Regions from separate parts of the Homo sapiens genome. Here all the other regions are linked to region 1. The links are contacts of gene promoters, found by promoter capture Hi-C in blood cells and fetal thymus (Javierre and others, 2016). All regions are on one chromosome and are shown on one strand. Each heading gives the region's core, a stretch centred on a gene start or on the middle of the fragment in contact. The rest is flanking DNA. Distances are from core to core; before and after follow the strand shown. Region 1 holds the start of TMTC2 (transmembrane O-mannosyltransferase targeting cadherins 2). Region 2 overlaps LRRIQ1 (leucine rich repeats and IQ motif containing 1). Region 3 holds the start of TSPAN19 (tetraspanin 19). Region 4 has its middle 63 kb from the start of SLC6A15. Region 5 has its middle 84 kb from the start of SLC6A15.

What was found. The method cuts DNA at HindIII sites, captures the fragments that hold promoters and counts their contacts. A CHiCAGO score of 5 or more calls a contact.
Region 2: a contact is called between a fragment that was not itself captured here and the fragment with the promoter of TMTC2 in region 1, in 1 of 17 cell types (naive CD4 T cells). The highest score is 5.6, in naive CD4 T cells.
Region 3: a contact is called between a fragment that was not itself captured here and the fragment with the promoter of TMTC2 in region 1, in 1 of 17 cell types (naive B cells). The highest score is 8.7, in naive B cells.
Region 4: a fragment that was not itself captured here is called in contact with the fragment with the promoter of TMTC2 in region 1 in 5 of 17 cell types (total CD4 T cells, naive B cells, naive CD8 T cells and 2 more); the score reaches 18.5 in total CD4 T cells.
Region 5: a contact is called between a fragment that was not itself captured here and the fragment with the promoter of TMTC2 in region 1, in 1 of 17 cell types (naive B cells). The highest score is 5.3, in naive B cells.

The regions. Positions count from the first base shown.
Region 1 is chr12:82,685,514-82,688,404 of GRCh38, forward strand. TMTC2 (transmembrane O-mannosyltransferase targeting cadherins 2) reads left to right here and starts at 1,393. Exons shown (of 12, transcript NM_152588.3): 1 at 1,393-2,156. The coding sequence starts at 2,074. RefSeq lists silencers at 344-423, 1,274-1,373, 1,944-1,993, 2,354-2,413 and enhancers at 854-1,003, 1,024-1,233. The HindIII fragment of the contact is 3,615 bases long and covers 1-2,216 here.
Region 2 is chr12:85,056,677-85,059,567 of GRCh38, forward strand. LRRIQ1 (leucine rich repeats and IQ motif containing 1) reads left to right here. Exons shown (of 27, transcript NM_001079910.2): 8 at 1-508. Among named protein-coding and RNA genes, the nearest start is that of LRRIQ1, 22 kb to the left of the region's middle. The HindIII fragment of the contact is 1,356 bases long and covers 716-2,071 here.
Region 3 is chr12:85,035,740-85,038,630 of GRCh38, forward strand. It overlaps TSPAN19 (tetraspanin 19), which reads right to left and starts at 538. Exons shown (of 9, transcript NM_001100917.2): 1 at 465-538. LRRIQ1 (leucine rich repeats and IQ motif containing 1) reads left to right here and starts at 612. Exons shown (of 27, transcript NM_001079910.2): 1 at 612-668; 2 at 2,414-2,569. The coding sequence starts at 2,438. The HindIII fragment of the contact is 570 bases long and covers 1,100-1,669 here.
Region 4 is chr12:84,848,649-84,851,539 of GRCh38, forward strand. No RefSeq gene overlaps it. Among named protein-coding and RNA genes, the nearest start is that of SLC6A15, 63 kb to the right of the region's middle. The HindIII fragment of the contact is 9,785 bases long and covers 1-2,891 here.
Region 5 is chr12:84,827,208-84,830,098 of GRCh38, forward strand. No RefSeq gene overlaps it. Among named protein-coding and RNA genes, the nearest start is that of SLC6A15, 84 kb to the right of the region's middle. The HindIII fragment of the contact is 3,650 bases long and covers 1-2,891 here.

The DNA of each region.
Region 1 (2,891 bases), core at 143-2,642:
TGTAAAGACATAATTCCTTTTATTTTTGTTTACATATATTTGTCCAGGGCACAAAAAATGTGCTACTGTGGATGGCATAACAGGTATAATATTAATAAATATTCATCATTTTATCTGTGTGTATCCAATACAGATTTCTCAGATTTCCTTGTGAAATCAGGGAAATATGTAGCTTTGTTCTACAGAAGCCCAGACCACGGTATTTTCTTTCCAGGCCACTGCTAGACACCCAGGGGGCTCAATTTCTTGCCACAGTTTCGGAGAGCTTGCTGGTTAGGTGCTGCTCTTGGTTGGAACCAGTCGGCCCGCATGCAAAACAGACCTGTCTTCCACACCTTGTGGTTACTATGCAGCAGGGGGCGCTGCAGTAGTGTACATCGCGGTGCACCGGAGCTACTCTCCTGGCCAGAAAGCCAACAAGCCGGGAGGAGGCGTGTCAGGCAGCCCTGGGTCCTCTTTGGTCTTGCAACTTTAGTACCCAGAGCTTGTTCTACACAGACCATTCTACACCATATTTCACCATGTTGGATGCTTTCCATCCAGTCCTGCCTCCGAGCGGAAAGGAAAGGGCATTAGCTTACTGCCTTACTAGGTTTAAGTATAATGCTGTACCGGCTTGCACTAGAGGTTTCTCTCCTGTGTTCTCAGGGTCAACCCGACAGTCCCTCTGAAACCACGAAGGGGTCCCCGGGCAGTTGCTGCGGGGTGTGTGTGTGTCTTTCTTTCCCTTTTTGGGGTCCTTTCTTTTTAACCTTACTGAAGGAGGAAACGTTTCTCTCCCTACACGTCTTTCCACTGACATTGTGGCCAACCGTAGGCTAAGAGCTGAAATCTCTCCTTCCTAAGTTGCCTCCAAGCTCTCCAATACTACCTCCTCCCCCCCATTTAGTCTCACACACAGTGTGCGTGAGAGATCGCCAGTGAGTTTGTGACAACCGAAGCTGCAGCAGTCGCCAAACCTGTTCTTCCTCTCCCGGTCTCAGAAGTCTCTCCAGCTGACCGGACTTACGCCTGGCAGCTCTTGGCACACACAGCGCTGTGGCTGAGATTCAGCCGTGCCAGGCGCTGCCAGGCAGCAGCGGGGCGACCGACCACCTCCTCCTCGACCTCCTTTCTCCCAGCTTCCCCTCCCAGGGTGCACTGTATCTACTCCTTTGGGCTGTCTTCCAGCCGTCGCCCTTGGGTCCCGGGGGCTTTCCAGAGTGAAATCGAAGGTGAAAGAAACAAGAGGACGGGAGGCTGGTAGGAGGAGCCTCCAGGCCGGGGAGGGTGGGAGGAGCCTCCAGCCCGAGGGGCAGGGTAGGAGGAGCCTTCCGGGAGGATCTGGGTGGAGAAAGGGGCTGGGCCAAGCCGGGATGGAGGGTTGGTCACGCAGGCGCGGGGGGCCGCGTCGAGAACCCCACGCGGGAGCTTCTGGAGTCTCCAGCCACCGCTTCTCACTTCACTGGAGAAGGGAGCTGGGGCTGGGGCTGGGGCTGGGGCTGGGAGGGAGCTAATAAACATTGAATGTGCAGCAGCTGCCTTGGCGGCCGGAGTCCGCCCGAGCGACACCGGAGCAGTGCGCCCGGGAGGCGGCGAGGGGAGGCGGTTCGCCTTGTCCCTCCCACCCGCGCCTCTTTCTCTCTCTTCCTCCAGCTGGTCCCAGAGCCCGGCTTGGTCCGGTCCCTCTGCCCCCATCCCGCACCCTTCCACCTCCTCCGAGTCCCACTCCTCACCTAGGACGCCCCAAACTGCCATGGGTTAGGGTGGGGATCGCGACCCGCGCGAAAGACCAGCCCTGCGCTTCCGCCGGGGGACGCGGAGCCCAAACGCCGCTCACCGCTTGCGGGCGCCGGGCATGGGGAGTGTGGTGTGAGCCCGCACCCGGGGAGGACGCAGGAGCTGCGGAGACGGGCGCGAGGAGGAGGAGAGGAGTCGTGGATTGGAAGGACCCGAGGGAGGGAGGGTGGGGAAGCGAGGGAAAAGTGAAGCTGGGAGGAGAAGGCGGCGGAAGGTGGAGATTGATGCTTCTGTTTTTTGTTGCCGCTGCTGCCCTCGCGCTGGGAGCCGAGCCGGAGGGAAGGCGGTGGAGAGATGATTGCAGAGTTGGTGAGCAGCGCTCTGGGGCTCGCCTTGTATCTCAACACCCTGAGTGCGGATTTCTGCTATGATGACAGGTAAGGGGCCGAGAGGAGGGGGCGACGGGCTGCAGGGGGCACACTCCGCAGTGGCTCTGAAGCTTCCCTCTTTAAGGCTCAAAGTGCGTCTTGGAGGAACTGGTTCAGCACCTGATGGTTTAGGCGACACGTAAACATTAACACCTAAATCAAACACCGGGGACGTGAGGCGCGCTGGGCGGGCCGAGGGAGTTTCCGCTCCTAGTTTGCAGCAGGTTCTCTCCCTTGCTTCTCGGCTGTTGGCAGACGCTTGAGTTTCTTAGCGGAAATCCCGGCAATTTGGGAAACTGTTTAATGAACGTATTAAATTAAAGTCTTAGGTATTCCTTGATGCAACAAAGCACATTAAGTGATTTTACGTCTGGTTGGGAGGAAGCCTCTCCTCGATCCCTGATAGATCCTCCCTGTCCCGTTTCCTTTTATTGATGGGACACTTTTATTTCCCGAAGTTAAAACACACGTTTGATAGTTGCCAAAATTGTGAAAAGGGAGATCGTTCTCTGCTTTAACTTTCCCTTTTAACGTGTATAGACTTTTACTTTGAGCCAAAATAATGCTGCTGATGGTCTCTCCCGCCGCCCTAGCCTCCTTCACCAATCCATTGGGCAGCACTTTATAAAAGCCTCGGCTTTCTCATTTCTGTTTGGGAGTTGTACATTAGATGTTAGTGGTTCTTTTGTACTAATTGGAGAAGAAGACGCCCCTAGAGACTGAAGTTGTCTTCTGCACTTAGGT
Region 2 (2,891 bases), core at 144-2,643, 2.4 Mb after region 1:
AATATTACAAGAAAAAGAAATTTATTCAAAATCCAAAGAAATTGAGGAGAACCCAAAAGACAATGCTTGGAATAGTGGCATTGTGATTTTTAACACAACTGATACCATGATAAATATAGAAGGCAAAAGAAATGACCAAGATTATGTGTTAGGTAGACATGCTCCTTGTGAGGGCTTGAGTAACTATAATGCAGAAAGCTCCATGGTATCTAAAGAAGTCAACTCTCTTAAATCTGAGATTAGAAATATTTCAGAAAAATGCCATGAAAATGCACCTGAACCTGATAGCATGACCTGCTGTGTATCAGAGTCAACCCTTCTATATTCTATTGAAGAAAGGAGACTAGCCTGGATAAAATCATTTAAACCTTGGCTTGAAATTTTCAAGCAAAATCAACAAAAGAAAATTGTTAGAAGAAAGAGACCTGTGAAATGCCCAGCCAACATGACACCCGCTTTGGATAAACTGGAAATTCTTCGATGTGGCCCTTGGGATACTTTACAGCAGGTATTTCTAATTTTATAATAATTTTTCACATTTAATTACAATTAGCTCTTTAAAGTATAACTTTTCAGATCTTAGAAAAAGAAATATTTTGTATACAAGAATTGTCTCTTGTTTAATAAAGTTATGAATGAAATATTACCCCATTTGGGAGGGGATATATCTCAACAAATTGTTCGAGGCATCTTCCCTAAGTGACACTCTATAAAAAGCTTTGATTTATATTTTTTAATATCTTGAAGCCTGTGTTCAAGGGCCCTCCAGTCATTATTTAAACCTCTAAGAATGGAAGCATATAGAAAGTTAGGGTTAGAATTATAGTAGGAAACTCCTAAGTAAACAGAAGTTTGCTTTAGACTTGAGCCACCACACCACCTAGTGGCTGCTTTTGGAATAAAGTGGATTTTATGTCCATGACCACTGTTGTGAAAGAAGGGCTTGCATGATAGAAGACCCTGAAGACCCTAGAATTCCCATCTAGCAACAATTATTTAGCGTGTGCTATTTAAAGGTGGTGCATATATGTCTGAAATGTAAAATAGTTGTCATCAAATGTTACTAATTTTATATGGTTATGGAGAACATAGTTTCAACCAAAATTAAGACACAGAAACTAATAAACGTATAGAAAAAGAGAAAATAATATTTTAAACAGTGTAACACTAGAAAGCACTTATGATTAAAATACATATATTTAGCTAAGGCCTGAAAGTCAAAAGTATTCAATAAAGTTTATTTAGTTTCTTGATAGACTTTCTTGCTAGACAGATGCCTAGGAGAAAGAACAATCATATTAATAGATAAACATTATTTTGTTTATTCACTCAGCAAATATTCATCTATCCAATAAGATGATCAATATTTATTGGTTGACTAATAAACAAAGAAAACCCAGTCTTTTACGGAGCTTAAACACACATAAATACGTTATTATGGATCTTGAGAATTGCTGTAAATAAGGCTTCAGAGTATCCTGTGAGAGAATAATAAAATAGTGGGATTTTGAAGATATTTCTGGTATATGAAATAGCAATATAAGAGATGAGAACTGGGACATACACTTTTAAGTGTCTTTTATTTCCTGGGTAATGTATTTGCCACATCTGTCAGGTCTGCAGAGCTACATATAGAATCTCTCATCTGCTCTTCTCCAATTTTTTCCTTGCGCATGTTATCTCTGGAATCATGTTTTAGCACTTTTCTTTCTCTAACATATTGCTGCAGGCCTTCCAATATGATAACATTAGCAATTATTTAGTTTTCCTCATGAGTATCTGTTAAAGCTAGGCAAGAGTGATGGCTTCATGCCTACAGTGTACTTGCTTCAAAAGTGAAAATGAAGTTACAGAAACAGTAGTGTTCCTCCCTTGCTTTGTAGGTCTCTGTTCTGTCCAATGAGAAGGAAGTTAAGATGTGTGAGCCTCTTTCTCCTTGGCATTTCTTCTCCAGCTGACTCTCTGTTCCTTCTTTCGAACGTTTGTCAATTTACATAAAATGATAATTAACTCTTTCTTTTACTTCTTAGAGCAAGGCCTGGCAAACTATTAAAATCTATAGAATACCTGAAGCTTTGTAGAAATGTGGATTCTGATTCAATAGGTCTGGTGATCCACCCATTCTCCATTCTTGCAATGATTCTAAATGATGATGTTGGTGCTGGTGAGTGGACTAATCTGAGTAGCAGTGTTCTAAAGGGCACCATAATCCTCTCATCCCTTCTTAAAGCAACTATCTCAAGCTTTTAATTTAGCTTTGAAGCATCAAATAGGCAGTATAAAGATGAAAAATACATGTGAATGTGCCATATAGATGCTAAAATGTTAAGAAAATATCATCTTTTGTTACCAGACAACTCCTGTAAAGATTCTGTTTGGTAGATGGCTTACCATGGTGTCTTTATTCACCACTGTTACTACTGATCCATGGCTCAGTTTCTTTTTGACTTTCTGATCTTTTAGCTTCAGATCTTTATCCTTATCCTGATCACTCACTGCCATCCTTGGGATGTCCTTCTGGAGATCAACTTAGAAAAGTTTATTGTCTCCCAGTAATGCATTCATTTTGCTTACATTAATCTCTTACTTTGAGACTTCAAGACATAAATCGGATCTTCGTGTTGTTCATACTTCTTTACACATTGCCAGGCAAATAAAGATACTCCTCAAGTTACAATGAAGTTACATCCAGATAAACCTACATAGCTTACAACTGGGCAAAATCATCTGGCAACGTGGTACACTGTAGAGTATTTGTTGTTTACCCTCATGATCATGTGACTGACTGGGAGATGCAGCTCCCTGCCGTTGCCTGACATTGTGAGAAATGATCATACTTTATATTGCTAGCTTGGGAAAAGATCAAAATTCAAAATTTGAAGTATGGTTTC
Region 3 (2,891 bases), core at 135-2,634, 2.4 Mb after region 1:
AAATTAAGTTAAAATTAAATAGCATGACATAAACTTAGAAATTAAGGTTTTATATTGAAATACTGTGTGACAATATTTTTACAGTAAAATAACTCCAGAAAATAATTTTTCAAATTTCTCACCCACATCCCTTCAGTTAGAGGTTTTTGATGGGCATTGATTGATGATTTTTTTCTTTTTTCCTTTTTCTTTTCTTTTCTTTTTTAAAAAACTGTTGTCATGGAAGGCAAACAACTTATTGACTTCTCTTCCATACTTCTATGTCCCACAAATCACTGTTCAGGATTAAGGGTTTGTGGAATGAACACCTTATACATGGGCAAATCACCAGATGGAAATATAAATATATGTAGCTCAGAAACAATTTAAAAAATTTAAAAGTGAGATTACATCTACTTGGGTAATTATAACAAAATTTCATTTTATTAAGTATTTTCCAAAGTTACTTAAATATTAAAATCTACCTGTAAAAAACCGTAAGCTCCTCATCCAGTCCCTGAAATGCTGCGTTCGTTTCAATTTAGAATCGAGATTGTTTGTCCTTCTAGAGCACCTGTAGGGAAAAACCGGTGTCTCTTCCTTGTGATTGGCTGTTGCCATGGATACGCTTTGTGTAGCGGCTATGGGCGCTGTCTTACAACAAAGCCAAGGAATCTCGCTGCTGAGGGGTGAGCCGGGGTCTTAAGACTGGGATTCCCGTTGAGGGAGGTGAACAGCTGTGGGAGCTCAGGCCGAGCCGGGACTCTCTCTGCCTGGCCAGACTTCCAGCAAAGGGAGAGACCGCGGGTCAGGGGATGGCTGTGCGACTCTGCGAAGCTCGAGGCTCCCTTCCACCCTGGAGATTTCGAGAACTCATTCAAAACTTAAAGAGATGTCTTGGCTATGTAGGGATCATTCGATGGTTACTCACTCACCGCTCCCCACAAACCAATTGACGTTATTTTCCTTCCTTCCTTCCCTTCTTGTCGCCCTCCTTTCCACCCTTTCTTTTTCTGTCTCTCTTTCTTTCTTTTTTTTTTGGTAATATATAATTTATATGAACCTTATAAAGTAGATTTCTCTCCCCTTTCTTTACAGGGGTTGAAGGGGGAGTTCCTTAAGCTTTTCTACTTTTGACAGCTTTAGTGAACTCCAAGTGATTCGTTATCAACTTAGAGCACTTTAATGTAGCCCATTTACAGTGAGACCCATCCATGACTGCACGTCATATACAGTAACCACTAACTGCAGGTGGCTACTGAGGACTTGAAATGCAGCTAATCCTAACTGAGATGTGCTGCAGGTGTAAAACACACAACAGATTTCTAAGAATTACTGTCCAAAGAAAGAATATAAACTCTTTGCAATGATATTAATAATTAATTTTGTTATTACACGTTGAAATATTTTGGATATATTGGGTTAAATAAAATATATTATAAAAATTAATTGCACTTCTCTTTTGTTTTTAAAAAGTTGCTAATAGAAAATTTAAACTTGCGTAAGTGCTCAAATATGTAATTGGACAGGGGTGATCTAATGAGCCAGTAGATGAACAGAGAAAGTCATGTAAAGGAAATGACTCTTACCTCCACCATACTCTCCTGCCTCTCTTTCTATATAAAGTTTAGTATACCCGTGCATTTTGCTTTGTAGGCATAAAAAAAAAATCTAGCTTTCCTTCTAATAAAGCTTTTTAAATGCACTTTGAGTTCCATTGCAGGATAATATTTTGCCCTGGTTCTGTCTGGAGTTCCATTTCACTTTGTTTTTCTTTTCTTTTCTTTCTTTTCCTTTTTTTATTTTATTTTTTATTTTTGAGTGAGTGAGTGAGGGTGGAAGTTATGGGTAGAACTGATTTTGAGATGATTGAGTAGAGTGAAAGGAGGAATTAACGAAAGGGAAAGAGGATGGAAAGAAGGAATGAAGAAAAGAACAAGAAGACAGGTGGAAAGGTCAGGCCCTTGAGTAAAGAAAGAAAGGTTTAAACTAGTGTCATGAAAAATAAAATGATAGCTGACTAGTACGTTTTCAAACCTTTTTTGGGACTAAGACCAACAGTGAAAAATAAAAAACAGAACATTAACAACAACACATATTACATTGCAACTCATGCATACATACCTACATTTATATGTATTAATAACTGAAACAAAAATTTTATAAACAATTCTGATCTTTATTATATATAGTAAAATTATATAAACATATAAATCAATAAGAGTATTAGCGTACAATTACAGTTGATCATTTTGTAGTCAAAGTTTAAAAAGAATGATTGAAGAGATAAAACAATGTTTGGTGTAACCATAATAAGGTGTGATAAAAGTTTGTTAAATTAAAACATATTTAAATAAATATGTTGGATTGGTATGACAAATTAGAGAACACATAATTTTTAGTGACATATTAGCCTCTTCATTTTTTAAAGCAGTTCTGTGCTTTATTATGAAGAATAATGGACGATGATGATGCAAAGCTCAAAGCAGAAATAGAAGCTGAATTGGATAAACTCAGCATTTCCTCCTTGGAAAAAGAAGACATTGAGAGTGATGCAAAATCAGAAACCCAGAGTGATGATAGTGATACAGTGAGTATTGCACTTTTGAGCCTTTTAACAGGAGTAGGCTTTTCAGGAGAAATATTACTTTTCTCAGGATGTTTTTATGTACTTCTCATTTTTAGCAGCATTGTTATAAACAATTTATATAAATATAAATTATATTGAATATATATAGTCACCTATACATCTTCGTAAAATTGGGATTATCATTATATATATTTATATCCTGATTTTTGTTTTTACTTGTGAACATTTTAGCATGATTAAATTACATGGGAAGAAAAATGTATATGAAATCTTTTGACATATCAAAATGGTTACTTTTGGAAATAAAACAAATTATCCTTTT
Region 4 (2,891 bases), core at 267-2,766, 2.2 Mb after region 1:
AAGAAAGAGGAAGGAAGAAAGAAAGGGGAAAATAGAGAAAGAGAAAGAAATAGGGTAGATATTAATATTTAGAATAGCTGGTTGTTTGGTTGGTTGTCTATTTCAACATTTCATTACTTGATACAAGAACTCAGAAAAAAGGAATTTGAAAAGATTAAATCTCTTGTAGGAATGCTTACAGAAAGAAAGAATTCAAATTATTATTTCCAAAAGTGGATTTAGAAAGTATAGAGTGAATAGTTAAACTTTGATTTGATTTGTTCAGCAGCGATTCGGACATCCAGGTCCCTTCTGCTCAGACAGGCAATCTTCATTGTTCAGTTCTATAAGATATTAATTTCATTATTGTAATGCTCATATGTTCCAGTATTAATCCTTTTAATATTTGCTCAAATTGAAATCTTTAAAATGGAGGTTTAAAAAGGCATATCCCCGATGAGACAGAGAGTGCTCTGGAGGGAATAAATATAAGCCAGGTGTCTGCATTATTAATTCTATTGACCTTGCACTAATGTGTGTAAATGCTAGTGATGAGCAGATAGAATGGCTGCCACATTGTTATTGTGCTTGAAATTTTTAAAATTTACTCTATATTATCAGGTCAAGGTGTGCTGGGGTTTCATGTTCTACTTTTTTTTGCTTTTTATAATGAAACATTCCTTAAAAACACTGAAACAACCAATTTTTGGAACTAGTATATTAGACTGTTCCTGAAAAAATTCTATTCTCAGAAAAACAAATGTCAATCTCTACTAATTAGTTTTTTTTTAATCTTCTTTACTATGCAACTGAATATACCCTGAAAAGGCAATTGATGAAAAATAATAGCAGCTGGGATATCACCACTCATCTGCAGGAGATGGTTTCTTTTATTTATGCAGCACCACATATGGTATTGCAGAGGCACCACATGGCACGTTTTTGCTGTTCAAACAATTCAGGTGTTTTGGGTTTTGGTGGTGACAGTGTGTGTACATATGTTTTGATGGTGGTACTAAAAATGATCTTGGTGTGTTAAAGCAATAACCAAATCCAAAGGGCATTTAATTTAGGACAAGATAATGTTTAGTCCCTTTTTTCTTTTCACCTCCACATGAGAGGTATTCTTAAGACAAACTTTTAGGTAGAATTTCATGTCATAATAGCTAGAGGATGAGCCAACTTTGGAGTTAAGCATTTGAGGCAAAATAACATATGAAGCATTTTATTTCAGTTCCAAATTTTGAAGGTGAAAATATGCTATACTCAGTAATAGATAGCTTATGGAATGTTTTGTTTTAATATTTCCAATAGTTTTCTAGAGTTTTAAGGTTTTCTCTTTTTGTCAAAACTTTATGGCTCAAAAATTTACAACTAAGCACTTTCATTTTCATTCTGTTTGAGAAAAGGCAATAATAATTTGTCTTATTTCATTTTGTGTTGCTATAACAGAATACCAAAGTCCAGGTAATTTATGAAGAAAAGAGTTTAATTAGCTCATGGTTCTGCAGGCTGGGAAGTTCAAGAAGCATGGTGCCAGCATCTGCTTGGCTTCTGGTGAGGGCTTTTGTGCTGGTCACAACATGGTAGAAGGTCAAAAGGGAAGAAGACGTGTGAAAAGGGATCAACCAGGAGGAACTTCCCTTTATAACAACCCAATCTCATGGGCACTATTCCATTCTTATAAGAACTAATCCAGTCTCATGAGAGAGAGAACTCACTTCTGCAAGAAAGCCACCAAGCAATCCATGAGTGGTCCACTCCCATGACCCAAACGTCTCCCATCAGGCCCCATATTCCAATACTGCCACATTGCGGATAAAATTTCTACATGCATTTTAGTCAAGGAGAAACCACATCCAAAGGATATCAAAATCAATATTTTACTTGTCATTTTTAAATTTTCTTTGCACCCATAATTCCTAACCAAGAATATATATTAGAATAACTGTGAAGTTTTAAAACTATACTCTTGTCCTGCTTCCAACCCCAGAAGAATTTTTATTTAGTAGGTTGGAAATTGATATGGTTTGGCTCTTTGTCTCCATCCGAATCTTATCTTGAATTCTAATCCAAATTGTATTCCACATGTGTTGGGGGAGGGAACTCATGAGAGATAATTAGGTCACAGGGGTGGTTCCCTCATGCTGTTCTTGTGACAGTGAGTGAGTTCTCATGAGATATGATGGTTTTATAAGGGATTTTCCCCCTTCACTCAGCACTTCTCTTTCCTGCTGCCATGTGAAGAAGGACGTGTTTGCTTCCCCTTCTGCCGTGATTGTAAGTTTCCTGAGGCCTTCCCAGCCCTGTGGAACTATGAGGTAATTATACCTCTTTCCTTTATAAATTATCCAGTCTCAGGTATTTCTACATAGCAGTGTGAGAATAGACTAACACAGAAATATAGCTTTAACAAGTGTACAGGTGATTGAAAACATAATTATAGTTAAGGAGCACTATGTATTGATCTTGAATTTACTGGAAACACATACTGATTTGATGATTTGTTAAAAAGAAGTAACTTCTGCATAAAAATACACATAAACACAAACACATGAAAATGCAAATATATTTTCATGAAATTATGTCCTAAGGTCTCACTGTATCAATATACTAGACTATCTCATTATGACTCTAATACCTTACTCAGTACATTTTCTCCTTCATTCTTTTATGTTTTAATTTTTTATTTTTAATTATTATGGGTATATTGTAGGTGTACATATTTGTGGCTGATATGGTTTTTCTGTGTCCCTACCCAAATCTTATCTTGAATTGTAACGCCAACAATTCCCACATGTCATGGGGGTAACCCAGTGAGAGGTGATTGAATTACGGGGGCAGGTCTTTCCTGCACTATTCTTGCAATAGTGAACGAGTCTCACAAGATCTATGATTTTAAAAATGGGAGT
Region 5 (2,891 bases), core at 214-2,713, 2.1 Mb after region 1:
GGTCTGTGGTCCAGCAATATCAGCATCATCTGGGAGCTTGTTAGAAATGAGAAACTCAGGCTTCATCAGAAAACTATGAAATCAGAACCTATATTTTAACAAACTCCTCAGTTGATTCATATGCATACTCAAGTTTGAGATGCATTTCTCTAGCTCTTTTTCTCAACTCTCTATTACTTTACACTCAGTCTTTGTACATATGCCCAGGTATTTCAAATCTATTTCTTAGATGAAAGTAATTGCAGATCAAGGAAATAAAATAATCTCCTTCCCAACAGAAACACTTCATCGAACTTCTTATGTAAATCTGTTTTCTTTCTCACCCATATTTTATAGCCTGGAAACAATTTGTAAAACAGTTTATGTGACCAGAAATCCTTCATGATAATTCTGTGTAATTTGATACCATAATAATACAATTATTTGTTAATTCTTTGTTGAAACTTTTTTTTAAGTTTCTATGGAGAAGTCTTGAAATTAAACTTTTCTCCTGATATAGTTTGGCTATGTCCCTACCCAAAATCTCATCTTGAATTGTAATCCCCATAAACTCCATAATCCCCACATGTTGTGAGCAGGACCAGGTGGAGGTAACTGGATTATGGAGACAGTTTGCCCCATGCTGTTCTCATGAAAATGAATGTTTCTCACAATATCTGATGGTTTTATAAGTGTCTGGCATTTCCCCTTCTTGCACTCACTCTGTCCTGCCACCCTGTGAAGAAGGTGCCTGCTTCTTTTTTGCCTTCCACCATGATTTTAAGTTTCCTGAGGCCTCCCCAACAATGTGGAACTGTGAGTCAATTAAACCTCTTTCCTTTATAAATTACCCAGTCTCAGGTATTTCTTCATAGTAGTATACGAATGGACTAATACAGTAAATTGGTACCGAGATAGTGGGGCATTGCTATAAGTTACCTGAGAATGTGGAAACAACTTTGGGACTGGGTAATAGGTAGAGATTGAAACCACTGTAGGGGTCAGAAGACAGAAAGATTTGGGAAAATTTGGAACTTCCTAGAGACTTGTTGAATGGCTTTGACCAAAATGCTAATACTGATATGGGCAATGAAGTCCAGGCTGAGGTGGTCTCAAATGGAGTTGAGTAACTTGTTGGGAACTCTTGCTATACTTTAGCAAACAGACTGGCGGCATTTAGCACCTGCCCTAGGGATCTGTGTAACTTTGAACCTGAGAGAGATGATTTGGGGTATCTGGTAGAAGAAATTCTAAGCAGAAAAGTGTTCAAAAGGAAGCAGAGCATACAAATTATGAAAATTTGCAGCATGACGATGTGATAGAAAAAAAATTCTGGGGAGAAATTCAAGCCCACTGCAGAAATGTTAATCACCAAGACAATGAGGAAAACATCTCCAGGGCATGTTAGATACCTTCATGGCAGTGCCTCCCATCCAGGCCCAGAGGCCTAGGAGGGAAAAATGGTTTTGTGTGCTGGGCCCAGGGCATCCTGCTCTATGCAGCCTTGGGACATGGTCCCCTGTGTCCCAGCTGCTTCACCTCCAAGCATGGCTAAAAGGGGTCAAGGTACAGCCTGGGCTATTGCTTCCGAAGGTGCAAGTCCCAAGCCTTGGCAATTTCCATGTAGTGTTGAGCCTGCAGATATACAGAAGTCAGGAATTGAGGTTAGGAACCTCCATCTAGATTTAAGGGGATGTATGGAAATGCCTGCATGTCCAGGCAGAAGTTTGCTGCAGGGGCAGAGCTGTCATGAAGAGCCTCTACTAGTGTAGTGCAGAAGGGATATATCAGGTTGTAGCCCCCACACAGAATACCCACTGGGACACTGCATAGTGGAACTGTGAGAAGAGGGCCACTATTCTCCCATTCTCAGAACAGTAGATCCACCAACAGCTTGCACCATGTGGCTGGAAAAGCTGCAGACACTTGGTGCCAGCTTGTGAAAGCATCTAGGAGAGGGGCTGTACCCTGCAAAGCCACAGGGCCGGAGTTGTCCAAGGCCATGGGAGCCCACCTCTTGCATCAGCATGACCTGGATGTGAGACCTAGTGTCAAAGGAGATCATTTTGGAACTTTAAGGCTTAATGTCTGCCCTATTGGATTTGGGACTTGCATGGCGCCTGTAGCCCATTTGTTTTGGCCAGTTTCTTCTATTTGGAACAGGTTTATTTACCCAATGCCTGTACCCCCATTGTATCTTGAAAGTAACTAACTTGCTTTTGATTTTACAGGGTCAAAGGCAGACAGGACTTGCCTTGTCTCAGGTGAGACTTTGGAATTAGACTTTTGGGTTAATGCTGGAATGAGTTAAGACTCTGGAGGACTGTTGGAAAGCCATGACTGTGTTTTAAAATGTGAGGACACAAGATTTGGGAGAGGCCAGGGATGGAATGATATGGTTTGACTATGTTCCTACCCAAAATCTCATCCTGAATTGTAATCCCCATAATCCCCACGTGTCAAGGGTGGGACCAGGTGGAGGTAATTGGATCCTGGGGTCAGTTTGCCCCATGCTGTTCTCCTGATAATGAGTAAGTCTCATGAGATCTGATGGTTTTGTATGCATTTGGCATTTCCCCTGCTTGCACTCACTCTGTCCTGCCACCCTGTGAAGAAGGTGCCTGCTTCTCTTTGCCTTCCACCATAAGTATATGTTTCCTGAGGCCTTCCCAACAATGTAGAACTGTGAGGCAATTAAAGCTCTTTTCTTTACAAATTACACAGTCTTGGGTATTTCTTCATTGCAGTGTGAGAGCGGACTAATATATCCCCTCTCCTAGCTTGTAAATACACGTGGGATCTTCTACATGTTCAAAATTAGAAAATGTTCAAATTAATATAGGGAAAATTTGGGAGAGGAGCGTATTTTTTAGGGTCTGGCAAACTGTGTAATTTTTTTCTCATATTGTTTT